2 separate regions of the Homo sapiens genome follow, and region 2 is linked to region 1. The links are contacts of gene promoters, found by promoter capture Hi-C in blood cells and fetal thymus (Javierre and others, 2016). All regions are on one chromosome and are shown on one strand. The core of a region is centred on a gene start or on the middle of the fragment in contact, and the rest is flanking DNA. Distances in the headings are between cores, read along the strand shown.

Region 1 (6,385 bases), core at 1,456-3,955:
TTATAGCTTTAGAGAAAGAGAGAAAAATAGGCTTTGCTGAGGGCCCTTTAGAGCTGTCTCAAGAGGCCTCTGCTGCCTGTAGATCAAGGGCAAACTCTTTTTACTAGACAGTCTTGCCCTGTCACCTGGCAGTAGTGCAGTCGTTCGATCATGGCTCACTGCAGCCTTGAACTTCTGGGTTCAAGCAATCCTCCCACCTCAGCCTCATGCTGAATAGCTGGGATTATAGGCGCATACCACCAAGCCCAGAAAATTTTTTTAATTTTTAAATTTTCTGTATAGGCTGGGCACGGTGGCTCACACCTGTAATCCCAGCACTTTGGGAGGACAAGCTGGACAGATCACTTGAGGTCAGGAGTTCGAGACCAGCCTGGCAAATATGGTGAAACCCAGTCTCTACTAAAAATACAAAAATTAGCCAGGAGTGCTGGTGCACACCTGTAATCCCAGCTACTTAGGTGGGTGGCTGAGGTAGGGGAATTGCTTGAACCCAGAAGGCGGAGGCTGCAATGAGCCGTAATTGCACCACTGTGCTCCAGCCTGGGCAATGGAGTAAGACTCCGTCTTAAAAAAAAAAAAAAAAGAAATTCTATAGAGACAAGGTCTTGCTTTGTTGCCTGGGCTGGTCTTCAACTCCTAGGCTCAGGCAATCCCGTAGCCTCGGCCTCCCCAAAAGTACTGGGATTGAGGGCATGAGCTACCATGCCCCGCCTAAACTCTAATGTGACATAAAAGGCCCTCCACACTCCAGCTCAATCTCCCACTTAGGCCCTCTTTCTCCTTAGGCCCCACCAAGCACAAGTCCTCAACACCGAACAACATACTATTTAATGAGGCCAGCATTTTCCCACCTGCAAGTCTTTATACACATTAGTCCCTCTGCCTGGAATACCACTCCCACCCTCAGCCGCAGGCCCCTTCCTTTCTTCAACAAATATTTATCGATTATCCACGATGTGCCAGGCCATAAAGATTAAGTATTTTTTCTCACAGACCTCATGAGCTTAGAGTCCACGAGGAAAAAATATTAGCAAGTAATTATACAATAAAGCCTGATGCACATGAAGGTCAGGGAACAGTATGCTTAGGGAACATCCAGCAGAGGCCTAGCTTAGTTGAGGGGGGTGGGAAAAGGCAGTCCTCACAGAGGAACTTTTTTTTTTTTTTTTTTTTTTGAGACGGAGTCTCATTCTGTCGCCAGGCTGAAGTGCAGTGGCACAATCTCGGCTCACTGCATCCTCCGCCTCCAGGGTTCAAGCGATTCTCCTGCCTCAGACTCCCGAGTAGCTGGGACTACAGGCACGGGCCATCACGCCCGGCTAATTCTTGTATTTTTAGTAGAGACGGGGTTTCACCATGTTGGCCAGGATGGTCTCGATCTCCTGACTTTGTGATCCGCCCGCCTCGGCCTCCCAAAGTGCTGGGACTACAGGCGTGAGCCACCGCGCCGGGCCGGACCTCTTAACCTACATCTAAACAATGCCTACCAAAGGAAGTATGGAGTAAAGAAAGGTATCTCAGTATTAAAAGAAATAAGTTGGCTGGCGAGGTGGCTCACGCCTGTAATCCCAGCACTTTGGGAAGCCCAGGCGGGCGGATCACTTGAGGTCAGTAGATCGAGACTAGCCTGACCAACGTGGTGACCCGTCTCTACTAAAAATACGAAAATTAGCCGGGCGTGGTGGCAGGCGCCTGTAGTCCCAGCTACTCGGGAGGCTGAGGCAGGAGAATCGCTTGAACCCGGCAGGCGGAGGTTGCAGTGAGCCGGAATCGCGCCACTGCACTCCAGCCTGGGCGACTGCTATGTCTCAAAAAAAAAAAAAAAAAAAAAAACACGTTCAAATAAGTTCAATGTGGCTGGGGCAGAGATGCTAGAGAAAGCGGTGAGAAACTAGGAAAGGTGGGTAAGGACCAGATAATGAAGACCTTTGCAAGCGTTCCAGTGTGAAGCAACTTTAACATCTAAAGCAGAGGTGTCGTGATTAGAAAGACGTTATAGATCTTTGTGGATCTGGGCAAAGGAAGAGTCCCCGAGCAGCAAAGACGCTCCTGGAGTCGTCCAGGTTAGAAATGACGGTGGCCTGCACTAGAGACGCCGCAGAAAGGACTGGAGAAAAATACATGTTAGTCGGAAAAGAAGGTAGAATCTCCCGACACAGTAGTGACCAGCTGGAAGTAAAGTTGAGAACGGTATTGGTGGTGACTCCCGGTTTCTGGATCCCGCCGGTAGCCGAGGGGCGACGGCCGACCCAAAGCTCACCTCCCCACTGCACGCCGCCCCTGGATCGAGTACCTTGGTGCTTTACTATTTAGCACACGGAAGTGTTGTTCTGTTGTCCGTGTCTCCTTGGAGACCGTGGAGAACAGAAGGGCCGGCGGGGGTTTTCGCTTTGTACTCCTGGTGCCCAGCCGGCGCTGCAATCCAGCAGAGGAGCCGGACTAGAAACGCGGAAGCTCTGGGTGCACGCGCCCGGCCCGGGACTGGGCGGCCCAACCGGGAGGGCGGCGGGTCCTGCGGCCACGCAACAGGCGTTGGGGAAGCAGCAGAGACCCTGCGTGCGCGCGGGCTTCGGCCTCCAGATTCCGCAGAGTCCCGGGCCCGATCCCCCCGGGGCTGGCCTCCTGCCCTACGTGGGCCCCGCGCGCCCACCTGGAACTCACGATGGCGAATCCGTGGTCACCTGAAGGCAACAGCACCGGCGCCCAGTGCGCCTGCGCCGCGCGTGCGCAGAGCCCTCGCCTCCCGGCCTCGCCTCGCAGACGCGACGGGCCGGGGAGGAAGCGCTCGGAGCAGTGCAGGTTTCGTTATCCTGTGTTAGGTCACTCCGGAGAGGGGAAAGCGGCCCACAGCGTCGCGCGACCCGGAAACGACACAACGAGGCCCAATCTTTTAGACTCGAGTTTAGGCCCCGGGGTGGAGTCTCCGGACCGGGTCCCCCCACCCCCGCTACAGGGGCAGTGCGCAGGCGCGAGGTATGTATCGCGAGACCATGCGGTTGCCCGGGTAACCAGACGCTCAGGACTTGGACCGTCCAGTTGTTCGGAGGCCAGCCTATAGCCAATGGTATCCCGAGGGCTCGCTCTCTCCGGGCGTTTGTGCTCCCCTCTCTCTTCTAACCCAGTTTCTACCTTTCAGTGCTTTGGAATCTTAGCCCTCTGTCTCTATTCGCTTTTCTGTATTTGCCTTGCCTCAGGGACGCACAACCCCAGCCCCTGTCCCAGTGAGCCCGTCGCCATGGAATCCCTGCAGACTCCCCAGCACCGCGAAAATCAAGATAAAAGGGAGAAGGAGTATGGGGTAAAACACATGCCTATGGGCAATAATGCAGGGAATCTTGAGCCCGAAAAGAGAAAGGCAGTAAGAGTTGCCTTGAGTTCAGCAACAGCTGCACAGAATATCCCGTCCAGTGTCCACTGTGGCTGCTCCAAGCAATGGAGACTCAGGCTACCATCGGAGTCGCTGCAAAGTCGGGGACAAGTGATGAAGCGGCCGAATAACATTTTAAAGCTCAGGAATCTGGATCTGTTGATCTACCCTTGGCCAGAACTTAGAAGACGGCAGGTTGCTTCTGACCTAATGAGCCTCCTCCTTCTCCCCGCTTTTTCCGGCCTTACTTGGGCCCCCTTCCTTTTCCTCTTTACGTATCTGCCTCCTTTTCTCAATCTCCTCACTGTTGGTTTTGTATCCTATTTTCTGGTATAGTTTCTGTGATTTCTTTCTTTTATTTATTATTATTATTGTTGTTGAGACAGAGTTTTGCCCTTGTTGCCCAGGCTGGAGTGCAATGGCGCGAACCTGGCTCACTCCAGCCAGCGCCTCACAGGTTCAGGTGATTCTCCTGCCTCAGCCTCCGGAGTAGCTGGGGTTACAGGCACGGGCCACCAGCCCAGCTAATTTTTGTATTTTTAGTACAGACGGTGTTTCACCATGTTAGTCAGGCTGGTCTCGAACTCCTGACCTCAGGTGATCCGCCCACCTCGGCCTTCCAAAGTGCTGGGATTACAGGCATGAGCTACTGTGCCCAGCCTCTATGATTTCAATTTTCATGTTTAAGTACCTATGTAGAACCTAACTGTCCATAAGTAAACACAACAAAAAAAAGATTTGGCTTTTGGTCAAAGATCATTGGAGGTTACACAGGGTAAAGTGCAGTATGATTTTTATCACAATTAGAAAGATTAAAAAGAGATGACAGTGAGTTTGTGAGAACAGGTTTGTGTTTCATAAAATGAATTGTGTGAGTTAGCTATGATGAACTGCAAGCAGCTTGCATTTCCAAAGACAAATAGAGACACAGGAATCTAATTAAAATGCTAAAGTAATGGGAAGGAGACATCCATACGTTTTTGTCCCCCTAAGGTTCCAGATTTATAGTTTGAGCATCATCTCGGCTTACATTTTCTCTGTGGAAAACATCAGCCATTACATTACTTGGCTCTGGGTTGAAATCCTAACTTCATCAACTGAAGATCTTATGACCTAGGCAAGTTTATTAACCTCCTCTATGACGTGATAAAAATAGTATCTCTTGTGCGGATTAGAAGACATGTTCCTCTATGCTAAGATGATTATTATGTGCGGAACACATAGTTAAGTGCTTGATAAATTGAACTATGGCAAATCCAGTCTCAACCGTGGCAAAACTAAGTTAATAAAAATGAAACATAACCTTTATTATTTTAGTGCTTGTGTTTTATTTTAAAACTAGCAGTATAATTTCCACGAGGATTTTGCTAAAATTAACAAGTACATTTCGAAAGTAATTTCTGTCCCTCTTGTATCACACAAACATTACAACCAAAAAGTAAAAAACATTCTCCCATGACCCAATCACACCCATTTTTTTCTTTAGTGTTCCCTTCTACTTTGTTTCACATATGTGCATGCTTTTACATTAAACTAATACAGATTAAGTCTTCTGATTTTCTTTACACATAACGCTTTTTCATGTTTCTCAAATTATTACTTTACATATTTGATATCCTATTCTGAAGAAACGGTTTTTTTTTTTTGGAGACAGGGTCTTGCTCTGTTGCCCAGGCTAAAGTGCAGTGGCACCATCTCAGCTCACTGCAACCTCCTCCCAAGCTCAAGTGATCCTCCCACCTCAGCCTCCTGAGTAGCTGGGACTACAGGAGCATGCCACCATGCCTGGCTAATTTTTGTACTTTTTGTAGAGACGGGGTCTTGCCATGTTGCTCAGGCTGGTCTCAAACTCCTGGGCTCAAGTAATGCTCCTACCTTGGCCTCCCAGAGTGCTGGGATTACAGATGTGCACCACCACACCTGCCAGTTTTACTTTTTAATGACAGTTGTTTTATCCTGTAAAATCTGTTTGGTCTTTGTATATTAGAGCTTTCTTTTTATATTAATTCTAGAATTGGACTACTGTTTGATTTGTATGCTTTCCATTATTTGACAATGACTTAAGATTCTGAGTGATGGCCGGCTGTGGTGGCTCACACCTGTAATCCCAGCACTTTGGGAGGCTGAGGCAGGAGGATTGCTTGAGCCCGGGAGTTCAAGACCAGCCTAGGCAACATGACGAAACCCCGTCTCTACAGAAAAAAAAAAAAAAAAAATTAGCTGGGCATGGTGGTGTGTGCCTGTAGTCCCAGCCACTCCTGAGGCTGAGGCAGGAGGATTGCTTGAGCATAGAAGGTGGAGGCTACAGTGAGCTATGATCACACCACTGCACTCTAGCCTGGGCAACAGAGTGAGACCCTGTCTCCAAAACAAATAAATAAAAAGATTCTGAGTAATAAATTAGATCATTAGCCACAATCCTTTGATGAAATAAGTGAAGGTCCCAACAAGAAAATTTGTCAATAGAAGAATGTAAGGGAATTGACCACCAGATTCTTCTTTTCCTCCATGGTATTCTGACCTTAGCTGTGTGTGTGTGTTTGTGTGTGTGTGTGTGTGTGTGTGTGTGTGTGTGTTATGTAACAGTAGTTGTTATGTAAACAATTCATTATTTTAAATCAGTTACTAAGAATAAACTTTAATGATGAGATGCAAAATGAATACTGAAAGCTTTACTAATTGGAACGGTATAGTACTCCAAAGAATATCTGTGTCCATAGAGACAAGTGAAGGTGAGGAGTTTCAAGCAGTTGAGCAATTCGCAGGTCTCACAAAACAGCAAAATCAAGACCAACATGATGTCAGCTCCCTGCATCTCTAATCCCATGGGACAGCATTCCCAATCTCAGAGGTCAGATGACAGGTCTTATGAGTGGTGGGTCACTCTGTCGAGGAACAAACTAAACTTCAGCAAGCAGTTCTACAGATTTACACAGAAGCCTGCGGCTCCATCCTAAAGTGGAGCAGGTTGTAGGGGGTGCGGAGAAAGAAGGGGAAGATGGAAAGCCCTAGTCTCAA
Region 2 (6,666 bases), core at 2,879-5,378, 490 kb after region 1:
GTTAAGTTTTTCTCATCTCTTTGGAGCTCTTCAGCATGGTGGTTTGGGTGTAAAGTAACAATTTTAAGATTACGCATGAACAAAATGACCAAAGTAGACAATAAAAAAGCAACACGTCTTATTCCAGATTGATTTGCTTTGTATCATTTTACGTCCCCAAATAGTCATTTCTGCTTTGTTCGATTTTCCTTAGGGATGAATTTGCAAGATCTCCAGATGTCCAAGCTAAAGGATGAGGTCATAGTGGAGTATATGGGTGACCCTGTAGGTTGCTGCTCTGAAATGGAAAATTATTATGTATGTTTTCCAGTAATGCAAGATCAGAGAATCTATCACCAGTGATGGGTTAAATGACTCAGAAACCATTCAGCGGAGTGTTCCCTTTGTAATGTAAGGGAAATCAGTATTTGTATTGAAAGCAAATCAGTAAAGACCCTCTAAGCCACCTGATAAACTGTGTCAGCCCCAGAACAAAATCTTAAATACAGCCCAGCAGGCTATTTAGGCCACTAGTTCCCTTGACTTTTTCCAGAGTCCTGTCTACATTCAGAATGTGAAATCTACAGTATATCAGACTCGGGCTGAGGGTCTGGTGTTGCCTGTTATAACCCTGGGAAGTACGAGGCTTATTCATTCAACAAGCATCTATCACCCACAGAGTGATATGTTGCAGACACTGTGGTGGATGGTATGGATACAAATGGAAATATCACCATAGCTCATAACCTTTGAGTTTTTATTTCCTGGGATCCCCCCACAGTGGCTCCAGGGGTCCCAAACCAAATTGGATACTTGATCTTACCTGAATTAAAATCCCACTAAGATTCCCTAGGGATGTGAGATATTCAGCCTAAAAGAGCAGATTTAATATATTGATACTGGCCTCCTGTCTTTTATTTGAATTAATAAATTCAAAGTAAATATTTGCTCTTATTTGTTTTTGGTTTAAAAGAAATTATGGTACCTGGTGCAAAAGGTAGCATCGTGACTTTGAGCCTGTAGGCATTTATACCCCAGAGTATGGAACGAGCCTTTGTTTCTATTTCTCTCACGGGGCAGGGAAAAGACCGTGGTCACTTATCACATTCACACACTCTGCCTGTGGCCTTGCATCACAGATGTTTGTCCAGGCTACTTTGTATGGAGAAGTCAGGCTCACTGCTGGGATGGGATTTAGAATCTTGAATCCAATGCATCTTTGGTTAGAATCTCGAATCCAGTGCATGCTTTTTCTATTCATCTGATGGGGCTGCTGTAACAGAATACCCTAGACTGAGTGGCTTAAACAAGACATTTCATTTTCCCACAGTTCTGAAGGCTGGAAGTCCAAGATCAAGATGGCAGTAGGGTTGGTTTCTGGTGAGGCCTCTCTTTCTGGCTTGCAGTTGGCGGCCTTTTCATTGTGTCTTCATGTGGCCTCTTCTCTGTGTTTGGGCAGAGAAAGAGAGAGTGGGGAAAGGGACAGAGGGGAAGGAGGGAGGGAGAGAGGAAGAGAGAAGGAAGGAGGGATCTGGTGTCTCTGCCTCCTTATATAAGGCCACCAGACCTATGAGCTTAGGGTCCCACCCTTATGACCTTGTTTAACCTTAATTACCTCCCTATAGGTCCTGTCTCCAAATACAGTCACATTGGAGGTTAGGGCTTCAACATATGAATTATAGGGGTATGTGGTACACAGTTTAGTCCATAACACTTCCCATATGCCAGATATTACATTAGGCAAGAGGGTATAAAGATATGTATATATGTCAAGCATCAACTCTGGGCTCACAGAGGCACATATTTACGATACAGTGCAATAACGCCAATACCATGTCGGGTATGGGAGGGGCAGAAAAGATCCATTTAGTGTGAGCAGGTCAGGAAAGGGTTTCCAGAGAAGACTGATTCTCAGAGAGGAGAGGAGCTCTTGGGGATTGGTGAAGGTCTGCTAGGCAGAGGGGAAGCCCGTGGAAGAGCATGACAAGGCCATATATTCATTATTTCATCCAGTCTTCATCACAGAGCAGGGCCACTTAGCAAATACGGCACTCTGGCTGAGTGGAGCCTTGGATGTTTGCTGGGGAGCTTCGACTTGATCATGTAGCAGGAAGCAGGCATCCACTAAAGTGTTTCAAGCAGAGGAGGAAACTGAGCATCTTGCACCTGGAAAGTTCACTTGCACCCCAGAAAGTTGAGAGGAAAAGCATGTGTTAGACCAGAGGCTGGGGCCAGTTAGGAAACCCCTGCCACCATATTGTGACTGAGCCCAAAGGCAACAGTGGCGGTGCCAGCAGAGGGGGAGGGAGATAGCCAGGAATTGTGCACACTGCACAAACCTTGGAGTTGATGCCAATGTGGGGAGGGAGAGAGTTTAGGCTGGATCCTAGGTTTTGGTTTGGTGACTGGTGGAGCCATTGTTAAGAACAGAAACACAACTCAAGGACGAGAGAGAAGGAAGAATCATAGGAAACACCATGTATAAAGTTCATGGAATTCAGCTTCCTCAGCTGGGAAGGAGTTTCTTTAAGTTCTCTGGCAGGGATTCCACCCCTCAGTGGGTTCCAGGGACCCAGGGATGGCCAGACCCTTACTTGGCTGGCAGGCTGTGGCTTAGAGCATGGTGTGTGATAGGTATCTTTGGAATAAGTAATTTGTTTACCAAAATCCGTAACTGATGTGACTTTTCAGTATGACTATGACCCAAACTGTCTTAGTCAGAAAAATTTCCCCATAAATAAGCCCTTAGTCATCTGTTGCCAAGACAGTTAAAAAGCTTTTGATCTAAAATCCACGAACCTGTTGTCCTTTTTGCTACGCTGAAACCGATAACTGTTTCAGTCCCTGATTTTGTACCTGCTGTGATTCAAGTAGATTGTAATCTCAGAGCCTTAGGGTTGGCCAGAAAAGCACTTGTAAGAGAGCTGAAGAAAAGGAGATCAGAGAGCAAAGAGGCGGAATAAACCCTTTCTTTCTTGCATATTTAAATTTCCAATTACCCTTTGATGAAGGGAGGGGAGGAAAATGGGTGAATCTCCAGGTCACCGGGTTTTGGGTCCTGGCTTGACCGTAAATTTGTACAATTACAACAAATGTCTCCTTTTCCTCCCTGATTCTGTCTGCGTTTTCTTCCAAGAGGAACTGGCAGGATTTCTATGGGGACGGCCTCTTAGCATCGCAGACTTGCCGGGGAGACGGAGCCCGGACACCCAGGAGCGAGACGCTCTTGGGTACTTTGTGTGTGAGACAGAATAAGAGAGAGAGATGGGGGTGAGCACAGAGAGAGAAAGAGAATGAAAGAATGAGACAGAGGAGAGAGAAAGAATGAAAGAGAATGAGAATGAGGGAGAGAATGAGAGAAAGAGAGACAATGAGAGAGAAAGAGATTAAGGGAGAGAGAAAGAGATAAAAGAAGAGAGAATGTGTGTGTGAGAGAGACAGAGAGGTAGAGGGAGAGAGCGAGGGAACGAGGGAGTGAGAAAAAAGGAGAGTGAGCGCCCCGGAGCTTTGTGGCTGTGACCCACGCGGCCGCCTTCCCACTTTCCCGGTCATCCGGGGCCGCCGCGCTTTCCCTCCAGCCCTCGCTCCCACCGAGTCCCGGAGGCCGAGCGCTGCAGCCCCGGCTGGTGCCCCTCCCGGCGCGGATGCCCGGCCTTTCTGGATCTCCGCCCGACGCGCGCGAGCCGTGGAAGGAAGGCGGGGGCGGGGCTGCCAGGGCGGGGCGCGTTGGGGGCGTGGCCTTGCCGCCCCGCCCCTCCCCGCCCCGCCGCTTAATTCGGACGCGCGGGGCCGCGGGGAGCGAGAGCCGCCCTGCGCCGGACTGGCTTGCGGGCCGGGCCGCCGCCCCCGGAGCCGCCCTCGCGCCGCCTCGGGCCGCCGCCGAGCAGTCGGGCCGCTGGGCGCCGCCGCGGGCGCCGGGAGCGAGCTGGGAGGGAGCCGCGCGCCTTTGTGCGCGCGCCGAGGTAGGTTCGCCTCCCGCACTTACTTTCCACACAAAGACGAGGGGCGCGGGGAGGCGGGCGGCGGCCCTGCCCGACCCCGGCTCCGGGGACCCTCTCGGCGGGCGGGCGGCCGGGCGGGTGGGGGGTCCCCGTGCGCGGGAGGGCAGCGGGCGTACGGGGACCACGGGTCACCCCGCGCGGCGCCCGGGAGGTGCCGGGGCTCAGGGCGGGCACGCGGCGGGGCCGTGCGGGGGGCGCCGCGGAGGCGGGGGCCGCTGCGGGGAAGGGGCCCAGCGGCCGCCCGGCTCATTGTTGCCTTCTCGGCGCTGCCGCGGGGGAGCCCTACCCGGCGCGGTGTGCACTGCCTGGCCGTGTGCGCCGTATGCCCGCCCTCGGCGCCCCTCGCCCCGCGGCGCCCGGCGTGGACCGGGTCGCGCCCCGACGCCAGCCCCCGCCAGGCAGACAAAGCCGGGGCCGGGGAGGTTTGCCCCGCGCCGACGGTGGCCGTGACACTGACTCCAGTCTGCAAGTAACTTTTCCTCTTTTGCCTCTTCTCTTTCTCCCCTGTTCCAGTGAACCCAGCATATGGGGTGGTGTAACACACACAAGGAGTCCTAATTCAATTTGGGTTCCGTAATTTCCCCCAGGCATCTTTAGGTCCCTTGGAGGTGGCACTGATGGGTATGGCCAAGTGTTAGTGTTATGTAGGGGATGGTGTCCACCACTTGTGAAATCTGCAAGAGGAATTAGGTTGAGAGGGTAAACTGTAGATTTCATTCTCTGCTGCAAGGTACCAAGCCTGCTTCCTTCCTCCCTCCCAAAGATTTTAGGCAATGACAGCGGAGCAAAGTTACTTGATAGGATGGGTGCGATTTTGAGGGGTCAAAGAAAAACGGAATGAGGGCTGTTGGACTTCACATTCTTAAACTTGCGATTTCTTGCTATCAAGTACATCGGTTTTCTCCTCCAGCCACGTTTTCCTAACATCACTTTGGAAATTCTATCTATCCAAGTGGCTTTAAGTTGAAATAGTGTCTGGGCTACCTGTCCAGAGAAGATTTCTTAGCGCTGCTGGTTTCCGGTTTAAAACTTTTCATGAGAAAATTTTATATATTAATTAAAAAATTGAAAATATATAGAAAAAAACCACTCATATGCTCACCACCCAAACACACCCTAAGGATGAAGGCATCTTTGCTTAATTTATGACTTGGCAGCCATAGTGTGTTTGTGTGTGTGTGTGTGTGTGTGTGTGTGTGTGGGAAAGAGGGTGGGGTGGTAAATGAGAGCATTACTGACCAGCCACATCAGCCTAAAATATATTTAATCATGATAATTCTACAATATTGGTATGCCACTTACATCCAAGATTAATACGGACAAGTTGTTTTGAAATATATTTTCTTATAGGTTTGCATATAACCACCTGTACAGAAGGGAGAAGAAAGAAACAGGAAAAACAATGTAAATTTCCACTTTATTTGGAAGAATGGGCTGACAAAAAAGTTTCATGGACTATATTTTTGAATTCAGGAGTCATTTGGGATTGACTTTTGTCTTTAAATGAAATCTTTAAGCTTTAAAAATATTTTAAAGGTAACATTGTGTTCTGAGATTCATAAGAAATATGTGATGGAAAGGAATTCTTGTTTGTGGAACAAGGAATAGCAGTGATTGTACAACCGGGTGCATGCTGGCTTCTTAAAGACCTTGCACTGAGAAAGTAAAATAAGGGTTTTCCTGAGAATCGTGAGTTGTGTTGAGTGTGTATGTTCTTTTAAAATAAAATCGTTCTTTAGCCACAGATTTGGCCACTGGACGCTTTTGTCATTACATACTTTTATTTTCCTCTTGTAACATTTTTGGACTTTTGAATTCTCTAATATGCAAAATAGAGGTCTTTGAGACAACCGTTTAGAAGTAGGTTGATCATTAGGATGATGCAATACATTTTGAAGTTAGAAGAATCTACAAGAAGGAAGTTGTGGCTGTGTCCACTCAGGTGCATTTTTGTTGCAGTTCCTGACACTCGGGGCGCTTTAATCTGCACACACGCTCAGGGGAGTGTTGCGGTGCAGTAGTAGCCTGTGAGTGAATGAGTCATGCATGCAGTCTGCTCTGATGATCGGCATTCCTTCAGGAGTCGTGATGTGTTTCTGTCTGCAAAAGTCAAACGAAGCTCCAATAGGAAATGTCACAATCTCCTACCCCAGGGGACTGGAGATCCCCTTCCTTGGGTGGTTAAAAATGGACTTGATTTGCGCTTCTGAGAAACTGACATGTGAAATCTTGTTCCTGATGTGGGAGGATGGACGCCGTCATTCATTCATTCATTCATCGAATCTTTCCTTTGACTGTTAATTGTTTAAAATCTCACAAGTAAAGGTGGAAAAGAGTTTTACTGATTTTCTTTGGGAATGGTGGAGGGGTAGAAGACTTCTCTCCTGATGGAAAGAGGAAAGATGAGGAATATGGCTTAATGTTATTCCTAACTTACCTTCTGCCCCTTCCCTCCAGAATTCTGTGTGCAAGTGTTTTAAGGAAATGAGTTGGGAGTTTGGGTAAGTGAGATCTAGATTTTGGGCATTTGTAGAAGTCCCCGGCTATCTGGGGGAGTTGTCACTCTTCTTTCAGCCTAGAGAAGGTGACTATGGGTGCTAGTGTGCTGTGGGGCACACTCGGGGGTGGGAAAGCTGCTGTGGAGTGGGATGTCCTCTGTGTGCATCATGGGGTCGAGTGTGGCCTT

Evidence for each region. The method cuts DNA at HindIII sites, captures the fragments that hold promoters and counts their contacts. A CHiCAGO score of 5 or more calls a contact.
Region 2: a contact is called between a fragment that was not itself captured here and the fragment with the promoter of RPP38 in region 1, in 1 of 17 cell types (erythroblasts). The highest score is 5.3, in erythroblasts.

Annotation. Positions count from the first base shown.
Region 1 is chr10:15,093,675-15,100,059 of GRCh38, reverse strand. It overlaps RPP38 (ribonuclease P/MRP subunit p38), which reads right to left and starts at 2,705. Exons shown (of 3, transcript NM_183005.5): 1 at 2,294-2,705. RPP38-DT (RPP38 divergent transcript) reads left to right here and starts at 2,741. Exons shown (of 2, transcript NR_160789.1): 1 at 2,741-2,973; 2 at 3,195-4,675. RefSeq lists enhancers at 1,998-2,137, 2,198-2,287, 2,589-3,160 and a silencer at 2,428-2,787. The HindIII fragment of the contact is 10,027 bases long and covers 1-6,039 here.
Region 2 is chr10:14,601,515-14,608,180 of GRCh38, reverse strand. The region is part of intron 2 of FAM107B (family with sequence similarity 107 member B); the gene reads left to right. Among named protein-coding and RNA genes, the nearest start is that of MIR1265, 170 kb to the right of the region's middle. RefSeq lists silencers at 3,423-3,922, 4,153-4,372 and an enhancer at 6,042-6,211. The HindIII fragment of the contact is 2,742 bases long and covers 2,758-5,499 here.